Linked DNA regions of Homo sapiens: all the other regions are linked to region 1. The links are contacts of gene promoters, found by promoter capture Hi-C in blood cells and fetal thymus (Javierre and others, 2016). All regions are on one chromosome and are shown on one strand. Each heading gives the region's core, a stretch centred on a gene start or on the middle of the fragment in contact. The rest is flanking DNA. Distances are from core to core; before and after follow the strand shown. Region 1 holds the start of EPM2AIP1 (EPM2A interacting protein 1). Region 2 overlaps CLASP2 (cytoplasmic linker associated protein 2). Region 3 overlaps CLASP2 (cytoplasmic linker associated protein 2). Region 4 overlaps CLASP2 (cytoplasmic linker associated protein 2). Region 5 overlaps CLASP2 (cytoplasmic linker associated protein 2). Region 6 holds the start of CLASP2 (cytoplasmic linker associated protein 2). Region 7 has its middle 13 kb from the start of PDCD6IP-DT.

Evidence for each region. The method cuts DNA at HindIII sites, captures the fragments that hold promoters and counts their contacts. A CHiCAGO score of 5 or more calls a contact.
Region 2: a contact is called between a fragment that was not itself captured here and the fragment with the promoter of EPM2AIP1 in region 1, in 1 of 17 cell types (M2 macrophages). The highest score is 10.3, in M2 macrophages.
Region 3: a fragment that was not itself captured here is called in contact with the fragment with the promoter of EPM2AIP1 in region 1 in 1 of 17 cell types (M2 macrophages); the score reaches 10.3 in M2 macrophages.
Region 4: a contact is called between a fragment that was not itself captured here and the fragment with the promoter of EPM2AIP1 in region 1, in 4 of 17 cell types (M2 macrophages, M1 macrophages, M0 macrophages and 1 more). The highest score is 17.8, in M2 macrophages.
Region 5: a fragment that was not itself captured here is called in contact with the fragment with the promoter of EPM2AIP1 in region 1 in 3 of 17 cell types (M2 macrophages, M0 macrophages and naive B cells); the score reaches 6.3 in M2 macrophages.
Region 6: a contact is called between the fragment with the promoter of CLASP2 here and the fragment with the promoter of EPM2AIP1 in region 1, in 1 of 17 cell types (M2 macrophages). The highest score is 7.4, in M2 macrophages.
Region 7: a fragment that was not itself captured here is called in contact with the fragment with the promoter of EPM2AIP1 in region 1 in 1 of 17 cell types (M2 macrophages); the score reaches 8.1 in M2 macrophages.

The regions. Positions count from the first base shown.
Region 1 is chr3:36,991,453-36,995,091 of GRCh38, reverse strand. EPM2AIP1 (EPM2A interacting protein 1) reads left to right here and starts at 1,961. Exons shown (of 1, transcript NM_014805.4): 1 at 1,961-3,639. The coding sequence starts at 2,015. MLH1 (mutL homolog 1) reads right to left here and starts at 1,574. Exons shown (of 19, transcript NM_000249.4): 1 at 1,429-1,574. The coding sequence starts at 1,544. RefSeq lists enhancers at 873-1,384, 1,301-1,520, 1,891-2,240, 2,361-2,680, 2,711-2,790. The HindIII fragment of the contact is 4,668 bases long and covers 1,090-3,639 here.
Region 2 is chr3:33,611,147-33,614,785 of GRCh38, reverse strand. It overlaps CLASP2 (cytoplasmic linker associated protein 2), which reads left to right. Exons shown (of 39, transcript NM_001365631.1): 13 at 2,715-2,785. Among named protein-coding and RNA genes, the nearest start is that of CLASP2, 110 kb to the left of the region's middle. The HindIII fragment of the contact is 2,261 bases long and covers 743-3,003 here.
Region 3 is chr3:33,627,355-33,630,993 of GRCh38, reverse strand. The region is part of intron 9 of CLASP2 (cytoplasmic linker associated protein 2); the gene reads left to right. Among named protein-coding and RNA genes, the nearest start is that of CLASP2, 89 kb to the left of the region's middle. The HindIII fragment of the contact is 1,381 bases long and covers 1,123-2,503 here.
Region 4 is chr3:33,643,900-33,647,538 of GRCh38, reverse strand. CLASP2 (cytoplasmic linker associated protein 2) reads left to right here. Exons shown (of 39, transcript NM_001365631.1): 8 at 2,636-2,782. Among named protein-coding and RNA genes, the nearest start is that of CLASP2, 73 kb to the left of the region's middle. The HindIII fragment of the contact is 1,495 bases long and covers 1,103-2,597 here.
Region 5 is chr3:33,698,524-33,702,162 of GRCh38, reverse strand. All of the region lies in intron 1 of CLASP2 (cytoplasmic linker associated protein 2), which reads left to right. Among named protein-coding and RNA genes, the nearest start is that of CLASP2, 18 kb to the left of the region's middle. RefSeq lists a silencer at 2,540-2,740. The HindIII fragment of the contact is 3,773 bases long and covers 1-3,639 here.
Region 6 is chr3:33,716,442-33,720,080 of GRCh38, reverse strand. CLASP2 (cytoplasmic linker associated protein 2) reads left to right here and starts at 1,827. Exons shown (of 39, transcript NM_001365631.1): 1 at 1,827-2,273. The coding sequence starts at 2,079. RefSeq lists an enhancer at 1,466-1,555 and a silencer at 1,756-2,095. The HindIII fragment of the contact is 12,344 bases long and covers 1-3,639 here.
Region 7 is chr3:33,783,972-33,787,610 of GRCh38, reverse strand. No RefSeq gene overlaps it. Among named protein-coding and RNA genes, the nearest start is that of PDCD6IP-DT, 13 kb to the left of the region's middle. RefSeq lists a silencer at 91-150. The HindIII fragment of the contact is 2,422 bases long and covers 580-3,001 here.

The DNA of each region.
Region 1 (3,639 bases), core at 712-3,211:
CGCCTGTAATCCCAGCACTTTGGAAGGCTGAGGCAGGCGGTTCACCTGAGATCGAGAGTTTTGACACCAGCCTGACCAACATGGAGAAATCCCATCTCTACTAAAAATACAAAATTAGCCAGGTGTGGTGGCACATGCCTATAGTCCTAGCTACTCGGGAGGCTGAGGCAGGAGAATCTCCCTTGAACCTGTGAGGAGGAGGTTGCAGTCAGCTGAGATCGCGCCACTGCACTCCAGCCTGGGTGACAAAGTGAGACTCCGTCTAAAAAAAAAATAAAAAAAAAATAAAAATCTCCACTTAAGTAATTAATTACAAGCCACCAAGCTAGTATGTTTAGTTTTGTTTTACAGTATTCTGGCACAGTACAATAATAGGCCCAGTTGTCCTGTCAATTCATTCTAACACAGTAGAAACAAAAGCCAGTCTGCCATTGCTTCTGTTACTACTATTACAAGTGAAAAGGAAAAAACATCCCCAGGTTCTTGCTCCTTCTTTCATCTACCTTCCAATTCTCTTCCTTTCCTTCAGTGGTCCTTTCTACCCACTGTTCTCTCAGTCCCATTGCCCTGAATAGTTTATACTTTCACAATAAATCCCTCTAGAAACCTACCACTCCAAACTGAAGCATTCTTTTTTCTATTAACGTACGGACGTCACTAACAACTGATTTTAACAAAATAATCTGACATAACGTTTAGGTGTATTTTGGGCTTGTCTTTTTGGAAGTTTATAGTCTGCACTCACTTTTCCTTCCACATGTTTCAAATCTCTTCCCTTCACATTTTTTGTCACAGTTATAAGCTTCAAAATCCAAGGATGACCCATAAAATCTGGTATCTTCGAAGTGCGTCCTCCGAAATAAAGGACAGGAAAACACTAAGAGGGGTCACTAATTTAACAATAGGGTAATCAGAAGTCAAGCCCAAAGTGCATCAGCCTGTCCTAAAACTACAAACGATTTGTTTTGAAAGAAACTCAAAATGAATTGTGCCTTTGGATGTGAACAGATGATTTCTGGAATGAATGAAAAGCAAGAAAACAGTAACACAGTACCCTCTGAAAAAAGGTTTTTCTCCCCATCTTAAGCTTTTATACATCTTTTAACTTCGCATGTTCTGCATACATAATTTTAAATTAAGTGGCTTCCTTACTTAGTTAACGGTACCATTAAGACAACACTACGTATATTCCTCCACTTACACTCCAAACAACCCTTAAAAGGTCTCGGGGGAGAGCGGTAAAGAAACACACGGTCTGCGGAAAAGGAGAAGGCCTGACTGGCACGTCAGGGAACCCGGCGGCCTCCGCCGTTGTGGGCATGCGCTGTACATGCCTCTGCCCGGGCAAAGAGGCGTGTCCGCGCCATTGAGTGACGCGGCCCGTTAAGTCGTAGCCCTTAAGTGAGCCCGGCTCGACTCCCTCCGTACCAGTTCTCAATCATCTCTTTGATAGCATTAGCTGGCCGCTGGATAACTTCCCCCGCCGCGATGCGGTTCACCACTGTCTCGTCCAGCCGCCGAATAACCCCTGCCACGAACGACATTTTGGCGCCAGAAGAGCCAAGGAAACGTCTAGATGCTCAACGGAAGTGCCTTCAGCCAATCACCTCAGTGCCTCGTGCTCACGTTCTTCCTTCAGCTGTAGCTTACGCCATCCAGCCCCACCCTTCAGCGGCAGCTATTGATTGGACAGCTTGAATGCCAGTCAAATTTCTCAACTCTGTGGGTTGCTGGGTCTCTTCGTCCCTCCCTGAAGCGGCTACTGCCCGCTACCTAGAAGGATATGCGCTTGCGCGTTAGAGATCGCTGTCCGCTCTTCCTATTGGTTCGTTTTTAGGAGCTCGGGGAATACGAAATATCCAGCCAATAGGAGCAGAGATGCCGGAACCGGGCTTGTGTGCCTCTGCTGAGGTGATCTGGCGCAGAGCGGAGGAGGTGCTTGGCGCTTCTCAGGCTCCTCCTCTCCCCTTGCGGCCTTTCTAACGTTGGCCCTGCTCTTGTGGCCTCCCGCAGAATGTGGATGACGCCCAAAAGAAGCAAGATGGAAGTCGACGAGGCTCTAGTTTTCCGGCCCGAGTGGACCCAGCGTTATTTGGTGGTGGAGCCTCCGGAGGGCGATGGGGCCCTGTGCCTGGTCTGTCGCCGCCTCATCGTAGCTACCCGCGAACGCGACGTCAGGCGCCACTACGAGGCTGAGCACGAATACTACGAGCGGTATGTGGCGGACGGCGAGCGCGCGGCCCTGGTGGAGCGTCTGCGTCAGGGCGACTTGCCCGTGGCCTCCTTCACTCCTGAAGAGAGAGCTGCTCGTGCAGGCCTCGGGCTCTGCCGCCTCTTGGCCTTGAAGGGTCGCGGCTGGGGTGAGGGGGACTTTGTATACCAGTGCATGGAGGTGTTGCTGAGAGAGGTACTGCCCGAGCATGTAAGCGTCCTGCAAGGCGTTGACTTATCTCCAGATATCACAAGGCAGAGGATCCTGAGCATTGACAGGAATCTACGCAACCAGCTTTTTAACCGAGCCAGGGACTTTAAAGCCTATTCTCTTGCCTTGGACGACCAGGCTTTTGTGGCCTATGAGAACTACCTCCTGGTCTTTATCCGCGGTGTAGGCCCTGAGTTGGAGGTGCAAGAAGATCTTCTGACCATAATCAACCTGACTCATCATTTCAGTGTTGGTGCGCTCATGTCGGCAATCCTAGAGTCCCTGCAGACAGCAGGGCTTAGCTTGCAGAGAATGGTTGGACTGACCACGACCCATACTTTGAGGATGATTGGTGAGAACTCAGGACTCGTCTCATACATGAGAGAAAAGGCCGTAAGCCCCAACTGTTGGAATGTCATTCATTATTCAGGATTTCTTCACTTGGAACTGTTGAGCTCCTATGATGTAGATGTTAATCAGATCATAAATACCATATCCGAATGGATAGTTTTGATTAAGACCAGAGGCGTTAGGCGACCTGAATTTCAGACTTTACTAACGGAATCTGAATCAGAGCATGGTGAAAGGGTTAATGGACGATGTCTGAACAATTGGCTTAGGAGAGGGAAAACTTTAAAACTAATATTCTCTCTAAGAAAAGAAATGGAAGCGTTCTTGGTTTCAGTAGGGGCAACAACAGTCCACTTCTCAGACAAACAATGGCTTTGTGACTTTGGCTTCTTGGTGGACATTATGGAACACCTTCGAGAACTCAGTGAAGAATTACGAGTTAGTAAAGTCTTTGCTGCTGCTGCCTTTGACCATATTTGTACTTTCGAAGTTAAGCTGAATTTATTTCAAAGACATATTGAGGAAAAAAATCTAACAGACTTTCCTGCCCTCAGAGAAGTTGTTGATGAGCTAAAACAGCAAAATAAGGAAGATGAAAAAATATTTGATCCTGATAGGTATCAAATGGTGATCTGTCGTCTCCAAAAAGAATTTGAGAGACATTTTAAGGACCTCAGGTTCATTAAAAAGGACTTAGAACTTTTTTCAAATCCATTTAACTTTAAACCTGAATATGCACCTATTTCAGTGAGGGTGGAGCTAACAAAACTTCAGGCAAACACTAATCTTTGGAATGAATACAGAATCAAAGACTTGGGGCAGTTTTATGCTGGATTGTCTGCTGAATCCTACCCAATTATCAAAGG
Region 2 (3,639 bases), core at 624-3,123, 3.4 Mb after region 1:
CTCCTGACCTCCTGGCTCACTCCTGTAATCCCAGCACTTTGGGAAAGTGAGGCGATCCGCCTGCCTTGGCCTTCCAAAGTGTTGGGATTACAGGCGTGAGCCACCATGCCCAGCCCGTTTTCTTAACTTTTTATTGTTGCCTCTAAAAATGAGACTATTTGATTATTTTATAGCAAAACAACCACCACCACTACCAAGCAACCTTTAGGAAGTTTTGTAAGACAGTCCCTTTGTGTGAAGATTTTCCCCACAGCAGGTCTAGGAGTCAATTGTCTTTCACTAATACTATTCTTATACAGTGGACAAGGATTTTTGACAGAAATTGGTTATCTTAAATTTATGTTAATTTTCATGGATCTTTTCTTTATTTAGTACTTCTGTCTTATTGGCTCAGATCTTTTCCTGCTGTTACTTTTGTTACACAAATTCTGAAATCCTTGATGTCATTTATCATTTTTTGAATAACTTCTTGTCTCTGTCTTAACAGCTGTATGTAAGGAAAAATTCCTTTAAATTCTACTTATTTGAAAGTACCCATTTTGTGATTCTCAGGCTTTACTCTTTATACTTTGTTTTCAAATTGCTCATTTTTCACGTTATTATACTAGCCTATCATCTCACCAATAATGCAATAATTTTTAAATATTACCCCTGTTTTTCTTTGCTTTGTTTATTTCCTAAGAGTCTACTTCCTTAGATTGCTGTACTTAATTTCTAATTCTCTTTTTAATTTTAGGAAGCTTTTTTTCCCCTGTTGTCAACTTATATTAATAAAGTGTAAATTGTTCTGACTTAGTGTTTGATTGAATGCTTCATCTGTAATTGATGTAAATTTTTACTTTCCTTTGGTACAGCTCCCCCTGAGTATGATGTAGCAATGGTTAGGTTAGTTTATCTCTCCATCCTTGCCACTGTCATGGATGTGATTAACCCAGCATTAGGATTTTGCAGAAGTTAGAAGAAAAATGGAGAAGTGTGGTAGGTAAGACCTCCTTTATAGTTGTTGTAGCTAGGGGATCTCCATGGGTTTTACCTCCGTAGTAATGTTTGAGAAGTGGGCTCTTGTGAATGCTGTAGGGAGCAGGTCCACAGAGTCCTTTCATGCTGAATTAAACAGTTGACTAACAGGCATGTCAGCACACTTTCTTGCATTATTCTCATCTTCAACAGCTTCAAGTCTATAGATCGTTTCTCTTTAGTGGCTGAAAAAAGGGTTTTCATTTATTTTGGTTGAGTTAGCTGTGGCAAACACTGATGTGCCATATGCACTTTCCTTCAATGAAAGACTTGTTTCCCCAATGCTAGGAGAACTGTTAGTAGACAGCCTTCTGTTGCCAGTGTCTTAAAGGATTATTTCAGCTAGAGAGCTGCCTTTCCCAAGGTGTTGCCCCTTCCCAGTATTGCCCATATCCAATAACTGATTGATGTGGAAGTATAAAGGTTTGGCCATCTTGGACCAATTCAAGAGTATTCTCAGGGACTATTTCAGTTTAGAGCTTCGTAATGGTTTTGGGCAAAGATAGCCTTGGGCTGTATCACAGTTCAATTTCTTCCTCTGCCTGCTCCACTCCTGCTTCCTTCATCTCACATCCACAGATGGTAACCCCAAGGGCATTTACAAAAAATTAATATGTAATGTACATATTTTGGGGGTACATGTGATATTTTAATGCATTCACATGTGTCAGTGTCAAATTAGGGTAATAGGGAATTAATCACCTTAAATATTTATCTTCATGCTAGGAACATTCTAATTATTCTCTTTTAGCTATTTTGAAATGTACAATAGATTGTTGTTAACCATAGTCAACCTACTGAACTATCGAACACTAGATCTTATTGTTCTAACTCTATACCTATTAATCAACCCCTTTTCACTCCCTCCTCCCCCTATCCTTCCTAGCCTCTGATCATGACTAACCTATTCTCTATCTTCATGAGATCCACTTTTGTTTATCTCCCACATGAGTGAGAACATGTGATATTTGTCTTTCAAGGGCACTTCCTAATACATATCCTGCATGCTAAACTCCATCTCATAGCCTGCTTCCTAGATAACCCAGCCTGTACCATTAGCTCAGAAGGAATACAGGAGATTTAAGGAATTAAATATGTATGCTTATGTTAATGTCTATTATGAACTTTTTACTGTTTGCTTCACTAAAGAAGGGCATAAGAATTACTAATAGAAATCAGAAGATTATGTCTTTATGGAACTTCTACTTGAATTCTAGAGAGATACGATTCAGCCAGAATGAAGTGAAAGTTCTATTAAGACCACCATTTCAAAGTGCATTCCCAATAGTTAAGGAAATAGATTCACTCGACTACCTGCTTTGATGACATGGCAATTATGATTTTTTACCAGCAGTAGCCATGGTACTTCAGAAAATGTGGCCAGTACATGCCCAGTCCCTCTTAGTGCTCCCTCTCCCCCAAAACTATATTGTCTTAACAGTTCTTTGCAGTTAAACAGTTAACTTTTCTTTGTTAGATCATATTATATCCATACCTGTCCTTTTGAAACTGTATCATCATTACATTACATTAATTCAGGAAAACTTTTCAAGACTGGTCTTAATTTCTTTCAAATCTAATATCTGGTCTTTTTGTCCTCTTGTAACATAACTAAATACTTGAATGTAAGGCAAATAGAAGAAAGGACCACATGAAGTGTGTAGTATTTTCAACCTTTTCTAAAACATCTTTTTCAGCATACTCATGTACCCAGACTTATACCTTTAATAACAAGCAATTGCACATCAAAATCAGTTCCCGTGAGGAGGTAAGTTTAATTTTTTGTTGTTGTTGTTGTTAGTATAGCTCTGATACTGCATTGTTTAATTATTTGTCTGCTGCAAGAATTGGTCATTCATTTCTTGCCTTCCAGAAAACCATAAAAAAGTGTTTTGTTTTGTTTTTTTAATCATATCTCATGTAAGGGAAAAGGGATGAAGTGATTATTATGACCACCCACTTTTCTTAGTTTTATCATATTAAGCTTTGGTTTATTTGGGCTGCTGGTTGCCTTGGTTTTCAGAGAACAAGGAGTACAGAGTCAGGTCTGGGCTTGAGTCCTACAACTGCCATTGACTGTTCTACCTTAGGCAATTATTTAACTGCTCTGAACCTTAGTCCCTGCATAGGTTAGTAGAGCTAATAATGTCAACCCCGTAGAACATAAGGATTAAATGAGATACACATTAGTAGAATGTAGCCTGGTGTTTGGAACGGAGTATATAGCCCTATCAGGTCTTTCAGTTAGTGTCTGCCTCTGTCTCTGGTTTCTACAATTCTTAACATCACACCTGTAAACCTGAATAACAAGAGAGTTTCTCTGAAAGAAAATGATATTAGTATTTATGCAGGAATGAGGATTACAGTGGTATTTTGCATACAGTAGTAAACTATGCGTATTCAGGGAGGTAAAGGAAAACAAAGGTTTTTAAAGGAAAAATGAGGAAGATTACATAATCATTTTGAGGTGGTTATCCTGGACTACAAGGATCAGTAACAAGGGTGATGCCAACTTGAGGTTGGACAGGCAGTTGCTGCGTAGATGTCCTTGCAGAATTTTTGTTTGTTTGTTTGTTTTTGTAAGGTTGCGATAGCCTTTGTGCAAGGTTGTGTTTTTTTGGA
Region 3 (3,639 bases), core at 564-3,063, 3.4 Mb after region 1:
TTATTGAGATATATGTTTTTTCTTATTTTAAGATACTTTTTAAATAATAGGGAAAACATATCCCTTCCTCCTTTTGTGTTTTACAGGCTTTCATATAAGGGAAAGATTAGTGTTGTAGGAACAATCAGTAAAACTTAGTTGAACTTGAATATTTTTATTGTTTGATATGTTCTTGTCAGACTGGTAACATCATGGTATGGGCAGCCAAGGGCTATTCAACTATACGGAGGGGAAAAAGCTATTTTATAATTACTCATTGCTTTCTTCCAGCTGGCCCTCTCTGCCACCCTCACCACCCTGTAAAGGTGTTCCACACCTTCCATTGTTCCCTTGGAAACATCTTTTTCATAAGCAGCAACTCCCCTAAGTCTTTAACCCCATTTTTAAAGAGTCCGTTCAATGTTCTTGCCTTGATTAGAATCTGATTTTTTTTTTACGCTCTTTAAAGATAAAGCTGTTTATTATTCTCGGCTCTCATACTCATAGTAATTGATAATAAGTTTATTGTGCTTGCACTCCTCATTATTACTTTGTGACCATTATTCCTATACCCATTTATATGAGGTTCATGCTCCCTGACCAGCCTTCTTATTATTGGCATGTACTGATCTTGACAACATTCCAGTGCTGCCTAGGTTTGAATCCCAGCTCTGCCACACTAGCTGTGTAACCTTAGGTACATTACTTAACCCTCTGTACTTCAGTTTCCTCATCTTAAAATAGGAATTATTCGTACATATGCCGAGGGTTATTGTGAGGCTATGACAGTACAGATGAAGTGTAAGAAGTATATGTTAGCTATTATTATTTTCCTAAATTTTCACACATTCTTGATGAATTCAGTTTCTAGACCTCCTCCTCACTTTCACTGTAGCTACCCAGTTCATAGTCACACATTGGATTTTGATATCATCTGTGTGTTACCGTTACGTTTCCAAAGTCATTAATTGAAGTATCTCATTACTGACTAGGATCTCCTTGCTTTTTTAAGTACTCTAACAACTACTTCTGCACGATTTCAAGGATCGTCAGTCCATTGTTTTTTCTACTCACTCTGAATTAATCATCTGTCACTTTATACTTTCCTTCTCATCTATGCTTGATTTCCTTCTTATCTAAGCTTTGATAACCATGGTTTCTTGCAGTAGGACTGTACATATTATACTAAAATCCCTTGGTTCTCTCGTTTTTTTTTTTTCATAGCAAAGTATTAAGCAATGATTTTTTTTTAATACTCATTTTGCAAAACTACAACTGTGGATATTCCCAACTTTTTATTTTCTCTGTGTCCTGAAACCGTGCTGCTAGAGAAAGTCACATGTTAGGGCTCATGATTTTTACTGGAATTCACATAAAATGAACCCTCAACAATCTGATATGCTTACTATGTTTCTGTGATCAGTTATTTCTCTGCTTAATATAGCTATCAGACATGTTTCTTTCCTTTCTATCCATCAGCCAGCCTGTCTCTGTCCTCCTCTCTTCTCTCAGTATATGACCTAGCCCCTTACTTTAGTAAATAAGTAGTCACCATCAAATGGAAACATGATCTTTCTGTTACATTCTTCTCTGCTGTGCATTCCTTCTGTCCTGTTGCTCCAGAAACATGGTCCTTCTTCAAGGGCCAGCACCTCCACCAGTGCTTCAAAGCCTAGTATTTTCTGCTTCCTTAACACATTTACACAATCAGTAATCTCATGTAGGTTCAAGCTCTTTCTGTTTATCTCTTAACGTGGCTGGGTTCTTCAGTTTAAAAAACAAAAGTCTCACTGGACTCCATATCTTCCAGATACTATTTTTTATTTTGGCCCTCACAGTCAACTTTTCCAAAAGAGTTGTCTGTACTTGGTATTTCTGTAACTTAACTTGTTACTCACTTCATCCCACTTCTTTCTAGCTTATTCTTACATTGAAACAGGTCTTGAGTAAATCACTGATCATCGTTGAGGCACCAAAATCAACCAGTTTGGGATTTTTTTTTTTCTTGTTCTTCTACCAGTATTTAGCACTGTTGACTATAGTCACTGTTTTGTTGTTTAATTTTAGGTGCTTGTGATATGATGTTCTTCCATTTTATTCCCCCTACATCTTTGTCCACTTCATCTCTGTCTCTTTATAGGCACATCCTTCTCTACTTGCCTGTTGAATATTGGAATTTCTTAAGGGTTAGTTCTGGGCCCTGTCTTCTCATTCTCTATTTTCTTACTGAGTCACCTCCTTCAAACCCCTGGCTTCAGTTCCCACGTTTATCTAGATAATGCCGAGATTTTAACCTCCAAGCCAGACCTCTCCTGAGTTCCGAAATGATTTATCCACTGTGATTGTTTACCTGACACCCCCTTTCAGATGTCTCAAAGACACCTCAAACTTATCCTGTTTGAAATTGGAATAATGGTCTTCCAGTATTCTGTGTGTGTAAACCATTACTTAATCAATTACAAAAGTTAGAAACCTAGGAATCACTCTACTGCAACAGACACCTAACTTAGTGGGTTTTCAAGCTTCTTTTGCTTGTATGCCTGCTAAAAGAATGTTTGAAGAATTATGTACCCCCTCACTGAAGTACGTTTTTGAGTTGACTCTCTTCTTCCTTATTGGGGGAAGGGGAACCTTGCATTGTGTTCCAGGGGAATGCATCATAAGATTAGGGGTGGAAGAAGGTTCTGGAAAACGGCAGAGGGGTATTGTGAAGAGAAGGTGAGAGGCAGGAAAGAGCTAGCTCAGAAGTTTCTTTAACCACATAACAGTGTTACCTGGTCACCATCTACCTCTTCAGCCTTGTCTCATGCCTTGTTCTCCTTTGCATTTACACGCATTCTTTCTTTCTCTCTTGCTCTTGCTCTTACTCTCTGTTAAGCAAAAGGTGAATTTAATAGCTGTTGAAAGTGAAAGATGTAAGGCGGTTTGATGAAGGTACTCAGTTGGTATCACCAGGAGTCTATTTCTCATTTCTAATTCCTCTGCATTGTCTCCTTCCATGGTCAACAATATGGTTATAGCTGTTCCATCCTCACACCTGGGTCATTGGCTCTTCTCCTAGTCCCTTTATACTTTTTATTCCTTACTCTGGCTTTCTTTCATTTACTTTGTCACAGAGCCTTTGCACATGCTATTAACTCTCCAGGGAAAGCAAATCTGTCCACTTTGCCTAATGATATCCTACACATTCTTTAGCTCTCAGCTCAAGCTTGACTTTCCTCATAGGTCAACCTCCTCTTATGTATAAACTTTCATTTTCTTTTGTGGGACTTGCTACTTGTAGTTTCATATTTGATGTCATTTGATTGATTTTTAAAATCTCCCTGAGTGTATTGTACTCTCCATAAGGCAAAGACCACGTCTATCTATTTTGGCTAACCATAGTTTCTCCATTGCCTAGCATAGTACCTCTGTGTTATGTGAATATTTGTTAAATGAATGAAAGAATAATGGTGAACAGCAGTTTGACAAAGGGTTGGCTCCAGAGGAAACAAAATGTAGCTATCCTGACTACAGTTTATCATGACTGAGGAGAGAAAATTAAAACTAACTTATAACATGTCCTTTTTGTAATATTGGGTAATATGTATATGAATGCAATAAGATAGGTTATACACTTGAAGTCATTTTGAGAAATTAGACTTTTATTTATTCTTAGAT
Region 4 (3,639 bases), core at 601-3,100, 3.3 Mb after region 1:
AGCCTAAAATATTTGCTGTGTGGTCCTTTATAGAAAAAGAATGCCATCCCCTCCCCTAGGGGAGTGATTCTTAAACTCAATCATGCATCAGAATGACTGGGAGGGCTTGTATGTTAATACATAGATTACTCTAGAGTTTCTGATTCAGTAGGTTTGGGTTGGGGCCCAGGAATTTGCATTTTTAACAAATTGCCCGGTGATGCTCAGCTGCTGGTATAGGGGCCACATTTTGAGGACTGGTGCCATAGATATTACTATGCATCTTTGACTTATAATCTAAAATAAATTATTAATCTAAAATCTAATTATATATAGTTATAATCTAAAATAATCTAAAATAAATTATTGTGTTTACTACTTCCTCAGTAAGGCTCAAATCTTTAGAAACCTTTGACTTTGTTTGCTTACCTTTTAGTAGTACCATTTTATAATAACCTCATACTGGAACAGCCCATGTCTTGTCGGTAGTAGAATGGATATTAATAAATTGTGGTACTTTCACACAGTAGAAAACTATCAGCAATGAAAATGAATCTTCCAAACATTATCCTTCCAACATTGAGTAAAAAGAAGCTAGATACCAGAATACATATTGTATGATTCATTTTATATAATGTTCAAAAATGAACAAAACCAAGTGTTAGAATTCGAGACTAGTTAGCTTTGGTAGTAAATGTAGACTTTTAGGAGTCTCGAGGGTACTTACACGATGCTGGTAATCTGTGGATCTGGATACTGGTTATACTGGCATGATCATTTTGTGAAAATTAATTAGCTGTGTACTTATGATTTGTATACTTTGCTGTATTTTGATAAAAACTTTAAAAATTAATTTCCCAGTAGTTTGAGAAAAGAGTTAATTTTTTTTTTAATGGTAGGGACATATTTACTCTTTTCAATTCTTGTGTGTGTGTAGGAACAGAATACTGTTTCCATGGGAACTTCTGGCTGCTCTGTGTTTTAGTGCTTAACTTTCTGTAGATTTGTATGTCTACTCTTTCTTAGCTGCATTTTTTTTAACATAACAGTAGCAAAGAAGTTTATTTGGAATTGTATTAGTGTTTTTAACAAAGCCGTCTATGTACTGCATAGGTTTTAAGCTTATTAATTTATCCAAACTGACTCCCTAATAGTGTTATGCTAAAAAAATAATTTTTTAAGAGTAGAAGATAATTTTTTCCTGCAAGTTGTATTACTTAAAAACACTTTCTGAAATAGAATGTGACTTTAGAGTGTCTATTTGATTCTTTTTTCTTTTAATAAATAAGTCTTAAAACTTTCTTGGCATATTTTAAGATATATTTAATAGTTAAATAGTTATATATTAAAAATAGTTATTTTTCTTTAAAATATTTAATAATATCTCTTTATAGGAATTATTTAATTCTAGGTGATTGGGTGTTTGTTTAAGTAAAGAAAGTTCATTGAAAGGAAAAGATTCTGGCATATTCATCTGAAGCGTGTGGTAAAGCTGCTTCTCTGCCTCGCCCATGTTGTTTGTCATGGTTGATTTGTGCAGGGTCCTAGAGAAAACCATCTCTTCTCAGGAGAGTAAAATACATTGTGTGTGTGTGTGTGTGTGTGTGTGTGTGTGTGTGTGTGTGTGTGTATGCTGGGAGATGTTTCATTTGCATATAAGTAGATGATACTAGTGTGGTCATTCATATTCCGAAAGGAGCCTTGTAGAATCATTTATGAAAACAAATTGTTTTGTTTGGTTTCTATGGCTTAAATAAAGAGCAGATTTTAAGATTACAGAGTTAATTATGCACAGTAATGAGCACTGTGGCAGTCTATGCTTTACTGATGCAATAAGCATCCCAGCAGAATGAATATTGCATAAAACCTTATTTTCTATTTATATAAATTTTCATGTCAAATAAGAAAAACAGATTTCTAAGCCTTTAGTTTTGAATGCCTTTGAAATTTTGATATAGAATAAGGATTATAGCTAATAGAGAATTTTTTAGATGCATGGAGAATTTTTACCTTTCATCTGGCAGTAGCTGCCATAAGATGATGTCACCTTGTAGCTGATTGGCTGTTACAGCACCTAGGGCAGGGAAGAGAAAGAAAAATGCCGGCACAAACCTCAGTGGTGGTTCTGTGGTTGTTTCTGTCTTTTTTTGATAGAATCTTTGATTAGTATCGAATTTACTGTATTTGGCCATGTGAACTATTGGGAGCCTCCTAGGGTGAGGGAAATTAAGAGCTTTCAGAGGAATGAGGCGACTGATTTGCAAACGGATCTGTGATTGTAAGTTGCAGAATCTGGGTATAAGGAATAAGGCAGGGCGTGCTAGAAGATACACTATGGGAGGAGCTGGCAGAAAATGCAGAGTAGCAAAAACATGAAAAATACTTTTACTACCTTTAGAGTTAAAATGTTTTATGTTTTGACTTAATATGTATAAGTAAGAAGTATGAAAATACTGCATTTTGATTTTGAATTACAGAGGATTATTTTATATGGTGTTAGCCAATATATAAATGCTTATTCAAAGGACCTTTATTTCGTATTATATATCTTACCAAAGTAATGATTTTATATATGGCTTTATTTTATTTTTGAGCTTTAGGGAAAATGGAACAAAGCTTAGTTCTCTTAAATACATTTTTCTGATGCTTTGTGCAGATAAAAGCTTCGATGATGAAGAATCAGTGGATGGAAATAGGCCATCATCAGCTGCATCAGCCTTCAAGGTTCCTGCACCTAAAACATCCGGAAATCCTGCCAACAGTGCAAGGAAGCCTGGTTCAGCAGGTGGCCCTAAGGTTGGAGGTAATGTAAATCCATTTCAAATCTGTTATGCATGCTCCATGCCCTTGATATGGCCACACATACTTGGAACTTCAGAGGAATATGTTTATTCATGACTGCAGCACGATTGCAGATCTGGAGTCTGTTGCAACATTCAGAAGAATACGATGCCCTTTTGAAATGTATAAAATATTGTATACTGCTATTTCCTCTAAGAATGTATGTGAATTAGTCTCTTCTTGAGGGTATTTATTTTTCAGATGCCATTTTGAAAAAGATTTATGGAAGTTTTTTGGGGTTTTTTTGTTTTTTTTAAGCAGAGAACAGGTTTTTCAGAATTTGGCTACTAATTTTCAAGTGCAATAGCTGTTACAGAAATGTTGAATTATGTAATGTTTTTACACATTCCTCTAGGTAGTAAGTCTTAAATACTCCAGCATTTAAAAAATGGTTGAAGATACTGGGTACTGAATCATTTGTCACAATAGGAGATGGGTGGTGGTCAAGTAAAATTGCCTCAAAAATGGTTCCTGGATTAAATCATAATAGGAAAATAAGAAAAATCAGGTTTCATGCAATTTTATAATTCATAGCATATTCATTGATCATATTAGAACTGTTTCTAGCATATTGTTTATCTTTAAATTTTTTAATGGGTATTCTTTCATGTGTTAATTAGAAAGCCGTGAGTATATTTCCGGTGTTAGTTTCTGCTACATCTTTCTGATAGAATGAATCTGTGAAAATAAGGGTATTTAATTCTAAAAAGACAGTAATCTCTTTCTCTTTTCCTTTCTTTCCTTTTTAAAAATAAATGTATGTCTTAGTTGTGATATTTTGGGAAAACATATCTTTCCTTGTTTACAGTAACTGGTGAG
Region 5 (3,639 bases), core at 618-3,117, 3.3 Mb after region 1:
CCTTGAATTTTCATATGAATTTTAGAATAGGCTTCTTAAACTCTACAGTGAACCCAGTTGGCTATCAGATAAGTATTTTGCAAATATTTTCTCTTAATCTGTGACTGGGTTTTTCATTTTCTTAGCCATGTCTTTTAAACAGCAGAAGTTCTTAGTGAAGTCTGCTTTATCAATTTTTAAAATTTTATGTTGTCTCCAAGAATCTTTTATGTTTTTTTCTTTTATGTTTCTTTTCATGTTGTCTCTAAGAATTATTTGTGTACTCCAGGTGTAAAGATTTTCTCCTGTGTTTTCTTCTAGTAGTTTTATAGTTTTAGGTTTTATGTTTATATCTCATACATTTTTGAGTTGATTTTTGTAAATGATGTGATGTATAGGTTGAGGTTCATTTTTTATTTTGCACATGGATATCCAATTGTAACATCACCATTTATTGAAAAAGTATATTTCTTTCCTTCATTGAATTGCCTTTGCACAGTTGTTGGAGATCAGTTGACTATATATGTGTATGTCTATTTTTGGACTGCCTCTTCTGTTTCATTGATCTATATATTTGTTTGTTCTTTTGAGACAGGGTATTACTCTGTTACCCAGGCTGGAGTGCAGTGGTGCATTCATAGGTCACTACAGCTTCAAACTTTTGGGCTCAAGCAATCCTCCTGCTTCAGCCTCTTGAGTAACTGGTATTATATGCCTGTGCCACCATGGCCAGCTACTTTTAAAATTTTTTGTAGAGACAGGTTCTCGCTATGTTGCCCAGGCAGGTCTCCAGCGATCCTCTTGTCTCAGCCTCCAGAAGTGCTGGGATTACAGGCATGTGCCTCTTACAGCCCCCACATTGTCTTGATTACTGTAGGTTTATATTAAGTCTTCAAATCAGATAATTGCACTGTAACTTCATTTTTCTTACTCAATATTGATATGAGTATTCTAATTCATTTACCTTTCTATATACATTTCAGGATCAGCTTGTCGATTTCTGCATCAAATTCTACTGGAATTTTGATTGGGATTGCATTCACACAAGAACAATTTGTGGGGTTTCAAATCTTTATAATATTAAGTTGTCCAATTCATGAACTTGGTGTATATATGTATGTGTATGTGTGTATATACCATTTATTTAGCTCTTTTTCTATCACTTTCATTAGCATTTTGTGATTTCAGCATGTAGATCTTGGACTTAATTGTTAGAATTATATCTAAGTATTTTGTGATTGTTGTTAGTTTTGTAAATGATACAGTATTTTGAAAATTCCCAATTGTTGAGTGCTGGTCTGTAGGAACACAGTTTGTTTTGTTTTATTTTTTTGAGACGGAGTTTCACTCTTGTCACCCAGGCTAGAGTGCAATGGCGCGATCTCAGCTCACTGTAACCTCTGCCTCCCAGGTTCAAATGATTCTCCTGCCTCGGCCTCCCGAGTAGCTGGGATTACAGGCACCCACCACCACACCTGGCTAATTTTTTTTGTATTTTTTAGTAGAGACAGAGTTTTACCATGTTGGTTGGGCTGGTCTCGAACTCCTGACCTCAGGTGATCTGCCTGCCTCACCCTCCCAAAGTGCTGGGATTACAGGCATGAGCCACCGCACCTGGCCCACAATTGATTTTTTTATAGTGACCTTTTATCTCATGACTTTACTAAACTCAATAGACCTAGTATTTGTTTTAGAGTGTCAGTTAGTTTTTAGAGTAATTAAATACATATATTTTTAAGGTTTTTTTGTTTGTTTGTTTGAGACAGTGTCTTGCTTTGTTGCCAGCTGGAGTGCAGTGACACAATCTCAGCTCACTGCAACCTCTGCCTTCCAAGTTCAGATGATTCTCGTGCCTCAGCCTCCTGAGTAGCTGGGATTACAGGTATGTGCCACCACACCCAGCTAATTTTTGTATTTTTAGTAGAGATGGGGTTTTGCCATGCTGGCCAGGCTGGTCTCGAACTCCTGACCTCAGGTGATCTTCCTGCCTTCCAAAGTGCTGGGGTTACAGGCATGAGCCACTGTTCCCAGCTTATTTTTAAGGTTTTAAATATTTATTTTAATTTCAACTATTTCCTGTTATTTCTTAGTGTAGATCTAAGTTTTTGTCTGCTGTCATGTATTTTTTTCCCTGAAGATTTTCCCTTAACATTTCTTGTGATACAGGTCTCTTGTAATGAATTCTATTAGATTTTGTTTGTTTGAAAAACTTTTTATTTCTCCTTTAGTTTTAAAATGTCTTTTAAAATATCTTTTATTTTAACTAGGTATAGAATTATGAAGCGACAGCATTCTTTTTTTTTTTTTTTTTGGTAGTACAATAATCTGTGGTTTTGCTTTCTACGGTTTCACTTACCTGTGGTCAGTTGTAGTCCCAAAGCAGGTAAGTACAATATAAATTTTAAGAGAGACAAGACACACGTAACTTTTGTTATAGTATATTGTTATGGTTATTATACTTTATTATTGTTAATCTTTTACTGTGCCAAATTTATAAATTAAACTTTATCATAGGTATATATTTGTAGGAAAATTTATATATAGGTCTCAGTACTGTCTGTGGTTTCAGGTATCCACTGGGGTCTTGGGATGTATTACTTAAACAGATAAGGGGGGACTACTATACTGTAACAATGTCATTCCATTGTCTCCTTACTCTCATACTTTTTGGCCGGAAATCTTCTGTACTTGTGTATTTAATGTCCTTTTGTTTTTTTCTCATTGACTTTAAGATTTTTCTTTCCTTTGGTTTTAACAGTTTGAATAGGATGTGTCTTGGTGTTTTTTGGAATTTTCTGTTTGGGGGTTTTCTGAGACTTAGATGTATGGTTTGATGCCTTTCATTATTTTTCCTATATTCTTGGCCATTTTCCCTCCAAATATTTCTTCTACCTTGTTCTCTCTTCTAGAATTCCTATGACATTATGTTGGGCAATTTAGTATTATCCCACTGCTCTTGAATGCTTTGTCTCTCCCCTTCCCTTTTTGTTCCTTTTTGTATTTCAATTTGAGTAATTTGTATGAACGTATTTTCAGATTCCCTGATTCTTTCCTTCTCTGTATCAAATCTTTTGATGAACCCATCAAAGGCATCTTAATCACTTTTACCTTGCTTTTAATGCATTTAAAAAATTATTTGTATTTTGACTCTGCCTTAAAGTTTTGGTCTCTCTGCTGGAATTCCTTTTATTCCTGCATGTTGTTGGCTCTTTTAACTAGAACATTTACTACATTAATCACAGTTATTTAAATGGTCTGATAATTCCAGCTTTCAGATTATCTATGTATTTTGTTCCATGCTTTATTCTTGATATTGGTATTTATCCCTCCTTGCTTTTTTGTGTGTCTCATAATGTGTGGTTGAAAACTGGACAGTGTTTAAGATGTTTAAGAGCAAGTTAAATAGTACTTATGCCTGGAGATGACATGCCTTTTTTCTGCTAAACTTACATATAGTGTGGAGCTATGCAGTCAGTCTAGTCAGGAGTTGAGTTAGGTTTCAATGTTATGATTGCTATAGTTGCTTTAGTTCATATTTGCTTCAGTTTTTTTGTCACTTGGTTAATTTTATGAAGGGTTTTCCTCAAGTTTCTACTCAACTCTGCACTTTAGGTTTTCCCTATTTTCTTGTGCTTCATAGAGGATTCTTCTTCGTGTTCT
Region 6 (3,639 bases), core at 578-3,077, 3.3 Mb after region 1:
CATGTCTGCTGTTTGCAAGCTGGAGAACCAGGAAACCTGGTGGTGTAATACAGTCCTAGTCTGGAGGCCTGAGAATTGGAGGACTGATGATATAAGTTTCTGTCTGAATACTAAAGTTTGAGAACCAGGAGCACCCATCTTTGAGAGCAGGAAAAGATGGATGTTTCCGATCGAGCAGAGAGAGTGAATTTGGCCTTTCTCCACACTTGTGTTCTGTTCAGGCCTCAACGAATTGGATGATGTCCACTGACATTGGGAAGGGCCATCTGCTTTACTCAGCTCACCAATTCAAATGATAATCTCTTCCATAAACTCTCTCACAGACACACTCAGAAATAATGTTTTGCCAGCTATTTGGGCATCTCTTGCCCCAGTCAAGTTGACACATAAAATTAACCATCACACATAGTTTACTTGATTGAGGCATAGTCTGAGGGAAATTACAACCAATTAAAGATGGAAGAAACTTTACAAACTCAATACAATGTGAAACACAGAAATACTGAAAAAAGAACACAGAAAACAGTCAATTTCTTTGAATTTTGAGTTTGTTTATTCTTAGTTATTGTGAATATTTCAAATATCAATTTTTGTTGAATTCATTCACTCATTTAACTTAAATTGGCCACCCATTATTTGCTAGGCACCACCCTAGGAAAACACAAAGGTTCCTGGAGCTTTCTGTGTATTAGAAGAGAAAGATATTACATAAATAATCATTTTGTTGTGATTGGGAATAATTGTCAAGAAGATAAACACAGTGTGCTTTTGGAATGTATTAGACAACTTTACCCCCACCAGAATGGCTAAAACTAATAACCCTGACCATATCAAATATTGTGGAGCAACTGGAACTCTCAAGCATTGCTGGTGGGGATTTAATATGATCCAGTCACTTTGGTAAACAATTTGGCAGGTTCTTCTAAAGTTAAACATACAACTTACAAGACCTAGTAATGCCAGTCCTTGGTATTTATTTACCCATGAGAGAAGAAAATATATCCACACAAAAACTTGTGCACTAACCGTTGTAGCAGCTTTATTCATAATTATAAAAAATAGGAAACAACCCAAATATCTACCAACAAGTGAATGGATCGACAAATGGTAGTGATTCCACAGAATGGAAAGCAATAAAAAGGAATGGACTTCTGAGACACCAACAGCGCTGGATGGACCCCAAACGTTATGCTAAAAGAAACCAGACTCCAAAGAAGCACAGACTGTATGAAGTTCAGGAACAGGGAAAACTATGTTACCATGCTAGAAATCAAATTAGAATTGCCTAGGGAAGAGCAGATAATTGGGAAGTGTCCTGGGACTTCCTGGGGTGTTGGAAACGTGCTGTACCCTCACTGGGGTGGCGGTTCCACGGGTGAATACATTTGCCGAAACTCATGAAGTGTACGCTGAAAATCTGTGCGTTTTACTTTAGGCAAACCTAAGTTTTGTTTTGTTTTGTTTTTTTAAGTATTACACAGTGACTGTGGTGGTGGCTGGAAGCAGAAGTCAGGAGTGTATTCTTTTTTTTTTTTTTTTTTAAACCGGCAGTGGGGGCGGGAAAGGGGGATGCCAAGTACTTTCCTAAGTGTTGAATACAAGTGGAGGCAAACTTGGAAACGTTCCACATTTCACAGGGCGAGGGCAGGGTGCCCTGACAGCGGCTAGCAAAGAACGGCCCGCCTCCCAGGGGGCTCGGCCCAACTCGGACCCCAAGTCTCCCTAGAGGTCCTATCGCTCCCAGCGGTTTCCGCAGCCACCTCCACCACCTCCGCAGCAAAACGCTAGCCGGACTGGAGGGCCCTCGCCGGCGTCGTGCTGACGTCACGCGCGTGCTGACGTCGCCCGCGGCCGCGGCCTCTGAAGCGGGCTGGGGATCGGGGGGCGCCGAGTTTGACTAGTTTGGGGGCGGCTGGGCGCTTGGCGTTCCTCCCGCCGCCCGCTGCGCCCCGCAAGCCGCGCCCCTGGCGGGCTAAGTGAGTCCCGCCCGCTCCCGCGGGGACCCGCACTGGAGGCTGGGCGGCTCTCGGCGAAAGTTGGCCGCTCACAGACTGGCAGGCGGGCGGGCGGCCGCAGCCATGGAGCCCCGCAGCATGGAGTACTTCTGCGCCCAGGTGCAGCAGAAGGACGTCGGCGGCCGGCTGCAGGTCGGCCAGGAGCTCCTGCTCTACCTTGGCGCCCCCGGCGCCATCTCGGACCTGGAGGAGGACCTGGGCCGCCTAGGCAAGACAGTCGACGCGCTCACCGGCTGGGTGGGTTCGAGCAACTACCGGGTAAGCGACGGCGGCGAGGCTGGGCTGGTCACGCCCTCCGCGGCAGCCCTTTAATCCCGGACGCGAGCGCCGGGCCGGGAAAGCTCCCGTCCGAACCACTGCTTAAGAGGGGAAACACACTTTGGGAAGCACAGGCGGGCGGATCACGAGGTCAGGAGTTCGAGACCAGCCTGACCAACATGGTGCAACCCCGTCTCTACTAAAAATACAAAAATTAGCCGGGCGTGGTGGCGGGCGCCTGTAATCCCAGCTACCCAGGAGGCTGAGGCAGGAGAATCGCTTGAATCTAGCAGGCAGAGGTTGCAGTGAGCCGAGATCGAGCCACTGCACTCCAGCCTGGGCGACAGAGTGAGACTCTGTCTCAAAAAAAGTAAAAAATAAATAAAAATAGGGGAAACAGGGGGGTCCCGCGTCCCCACTGGGCAGACCGCCTCTTCGTACGCGAGCCGAGGACTGACTTGTGACCACATTTTTCTACACTTGTGGACAATGACAAATTCAGCGATTCCGTGACACGTTGCGGAGTTACTAGGACACAATGTTGATCACTTATTTTGAAAAAAAAATCAGTGAAAGACTTCGACATTTGTGTTCACCTGTGTAAACACTACCCAGACCAACAGATAGGACATTAGGATACGATTTTAGGTTGATGTGTCTTAGTAGATAGGCTAATGCTGGGGGGGAAAAAGTTACAAAGATGAGGTGCGAGAAAGAATGAGCCTTTCTGAAGAGTTGGTGGTAGGCAGGGTGTAATGTAGCCGCGTTGGGAGGCCAGGTAAATATTTTGTATTTAACTTGCCCCGTAGTCGTTAGTAGTTACTTTTCTTTCTTGTCTTCTGGTGGCAGTGTTGCTTTAAAATGCTGACTGCAGCTTCCCATGGATGAAGTGATTCTTCTTAGTAACATATTCTCATGATCCAGCGAATAGGCTGTACTTTGAAACCTTTTATTCAAAAAGAGAAGAAAGACAAACTCTAGAATTATGACGCAGATTTAATGGTAAAGCCCAGATGAGTTTTGGAAAGGTTAGACTTTTTACAAGGACAATAAAGTTTGAGAGTTACCCACGTCGATGCTTCATTACATACCATCTCTTGATTATTATTTTTAAAACGTTTGGGGAAAAGGTAATTTAATAATATATCATTACCATTTGGGAGATTATTTCTTTGGAAGAAACAAGCTAAATTTACTCTGTAAGAAAGGCATATACATATTCACACTCAAGATAGTTGATTTTATGCTACAGCATAGACTGTTGTAGAAAGACAGCGCTTTGGTAATGTTTGCACCCCTTCCGAAGTTAAGATTGGTGTGCCATCTTCTACACGGGCTGTTGTGAATTGGCTTTGGGCCATTTCAC
Region 7 (3,639 bases), core at 541-3,040, 3.2 Mb after region 1:
TGCCCCACAAGGTGTCACTGTTGAGACACAGAATATCTACTACAGCACGACCTTTCGCAGGATGGAGCTATTAAAATTTAAATGCTCTGGGCTGGGCGCGGTGGCTCGTGCCTGTAATCCCAGCACTTTGGGAGGCCAAGGCAGGTAGATCACGCGCTACTCGGAAGGTTGAGGCAGGAGAATCGCTTGACCCCGGGTGGCGGAGGTTGCAATGAGCCGAGATCACATCACTGCCCTCCAGCCTGGCTGACAGAGCGAGACTCTGTCACCAAGAAAAAAAAAATGTAAATGCTCTGACAATCTATGGTTCCAAAGTTACAAACACAAAGGGCTTTTTTCCTAGGACACATGTGTGATGCTAGAGTAAAATTTGTAGGAACTGAGCTAGAAACTTGTTGTTGCTGCCAGGATTGTTAAGTCCAGGTAAGCAGTCCAGGCTCCCCTCTCCATGGCGAATTTCTCCTGTCTTTTGCTGCTGCCACGTCAGGTCAGGGCCATTCCAGTCCAGAGGTGATATAGCAATATTAACCCTCCTAAAGGAAGTGATCAGGGGTCTCAGTAACTGCCTTCCCAGAAGCTTAGTCTTTGGGAAAATTTGCTGACTTTCTCCCAGCAGCCTTTGAACTTCATGTACCAAAGAAAATGATGAAAAGAGCTTCATTGTCAATTCCCACATGTCCAGCTACAACCTTCCCCTGTGTTTCCTTACATCTACCTAATTAAAATGATCCCTCGGTATGTCTCCCAGAACAGAGGGCTATTAGGGGATCTCCACTAACGGAGATGCTTTACTTATTCGAGGCAGTTCAGCCCAGTGGATAAGAATGTCTGGAATCCTGACTTCCAGAGTTTAAATTCTAACTACAATATTTATCAGCTGTGTCACTCACTCTAGGCCGTTCACTCAACGTCTCTAAGCCTCAGTCTTCACACCTAAAGATGATAAAGAATACTACCTACCCCAAAGGGCTATCATGGGAGTTAAATAAAATACATTAAATACCTGACAGGCTGCCCAGAACACAGTAAGTACTCAATGTTAGTTACTGTTGCTTTTTTTTTTTTTTTTTTTTTTTGTAATTTTATCACTATCATTGCTGAAAGCCTCTTTTTTTTTTTTTTTTTTTTTTTTTTTAATAGTAATGGGGTCTTGCTTTTTGCCCAGGCTGGTCTTGAGCTCCTGGACTCAAGTGATTCTCCTGCCTTAGCCTGCCAAAGTGCTGGGATTACAGGTATGAGCCACCATATCTAGCCAAAAGCCCTTCTTTGTATCTCCTCAATGTTTAGAAGTAGAAATAGTTCATCTCTAGAAAGAAAACATTCTATTAATAAATGATGGACAGAGTGCAGAGAGTTTTTTTTCTCACCAAATCTCATTTCACTTCCCCAAGTCAACCTCTTACCAATAACGGCCACTTTTTATATGATAAATTTAATATGATATCTTGCTGTTAAAAAAAAAAGTTTAAATGAAATTAACACATTTATTTGAGTAAAAGAATGATTCATGAATTGGGAAGCACCAAGACCAAAAGAGGTTATGGGCTCTGCTCTGGAAGCACCTACCTATTATAGGCTGAACACAGAAGCAAAGTGAAGAAATTACCTGAATTGCTACAGCTAAGTGTTTGCCTTATTTGGGTATAATCTGATGGGAGACACCTAGTTATATAGCCAATTCACTCAGTGGCTGTTTGTGATTGGTTAGGGCTGTATTTTTGTTTGTCTATTTAAGTCAGTTATAAGAAATACCTCTAAATTAGGCTTTGGGCTGGGCACGGTGGCTCACACCTGTAATCCCAGCACTTTGGGAGGCCGAGGCGGGCAGATCACTTGAGGTCAGAAGTTTGAGACCAGCTAGGCCAACATGGTGAAACCCTGTCTACCAAAAATATAAAAAATTAGCCCGGTGTGGTGGCACGTGCCTGTAATCCCAGCTACTCGGGAGGCTGAGGCAGAAGAATCGCTTAAACCCGGGAGCCAGAGGTTGCAATGAGCTGAGATCATGCCACTGCACTCCAGCCTGGGTGACAGAGTGAGACTCCATCTCATAAAAATACATAAATACATAAATAAACAAATAAATAAATAAATAAGGCTTCAGCTTGCTTATGTAAGGGCTCAGGGTGCAGAGACAACCTCAGGCTAGTGGCCTTCTTATTTGCTTTAAAACTGCTGAAACATCCCATTGCCATGGGAGTGACTTAAGCCAATTGTCTATTTTTGAGTATTTAGGTTGTTTCTACTCTTTTTTTCTTTTCTTTTCTTTTTTAAGAGAGACAGGGTCTCACTCCATCACCCAGGGTGGAATGCAGTGGTGCAATCATAGCTCACTGTAGCATCAAACTCCTGAGCTCAGATGATCCTCCTGCTTCAGCCTCCTGAGTAGCCAGTACTACAGGCAGACACCACCATCCCCAGCTAATTTTTAAACTCTTTGTAGAGATGGGGTCTCGCTATGTTGCCCAGGCTGGTCTTTAACTCCTGGCCTCAAACAATCCTTCTGCTTCAGTCTCCTAAAGCACTGGGGTTACAGATGTGTCACCCCACCTGACCTGTTTCCACTTTCTTGATGTTGTAAACAACATGGCCAAGATGGTAGTTAACTCTTTATGTGCATTTGTCATTCATTATTATTTTGTTGGATTATTCCAACAAAGTACTGATTATTCTAAGTACTGATTTGTTTTTTTTTTTGAAACAAGAGTCTCACTCTGTCACCCAGGGTAGAGTGCAATGGTGCAATCATAGCTCACTGTAGCCTCAAACTCCTGGGCTCAAATGATCCTCCTGCCTCAGCCTCCCAAGCAGCTAGGACTTACAGGCACATCCACCATGCCTAGCTAATTGTTTTATTTTTTGTAGAGACAGGGTCTCACTATGTTGCACAGGCTGGTCTCCAACTCCTGGGCTCAAGTGATCCTCCCACCTCAGTCCCAACGTGCTCGGATTACAGGCCTGAGCCACTGTACCTGGCCTAACATGGACATTTTTTAAAGCTTTTGATCTGGCTTACGGAATTTTGCCTCATCTAGAAGAGATGGTTGACTGCATTTCTAACAACAGTGTATGAAAGTACTGAAACCTAACCAACATTAGCTATTTTGAGTTTTTTTTTTAGTCTTCACCAATTAAAAAGATGAAAAATTGTTCCTCACAGTTTTAATTTGCATTAATTTTATTTCTAGTAAGTCTATGGATTTTTCTATATGTTTCTTGGCTGATTTTTTGTACACTTTTGTACTTTTTTCCTTTTTTTCCCTTTCAGTTCTAGACCTACAGATGTACTCTTTAAAATGGCTATTTTGAATATTTCTTTTGTAGAATTTTTCTTCTAAGAGTGCTTTCTATTATAAGAGTAATAACCCTTTATTTTTCAAGTTGCAAATATTTTCCCCAATTTTTTGCTTGTGTTTTGGTTATATTTATGGAATTTTAAAGCATCAGGTTTCTGACATGTGGAATTTTCTACTCTTATAGGCCCATACATTGTGAAATATCAGAACATTAGAGACAAAGAGATAATGTTCTAAGTGTCTGGAGAGGGAGAAAAAACAGGCCATGTACAAGGAATGATAATAAAAATGACTCTGGGCTTCTCAGCAACATTTGAAGGAAGAAGACAATGGAAGAGTGTCT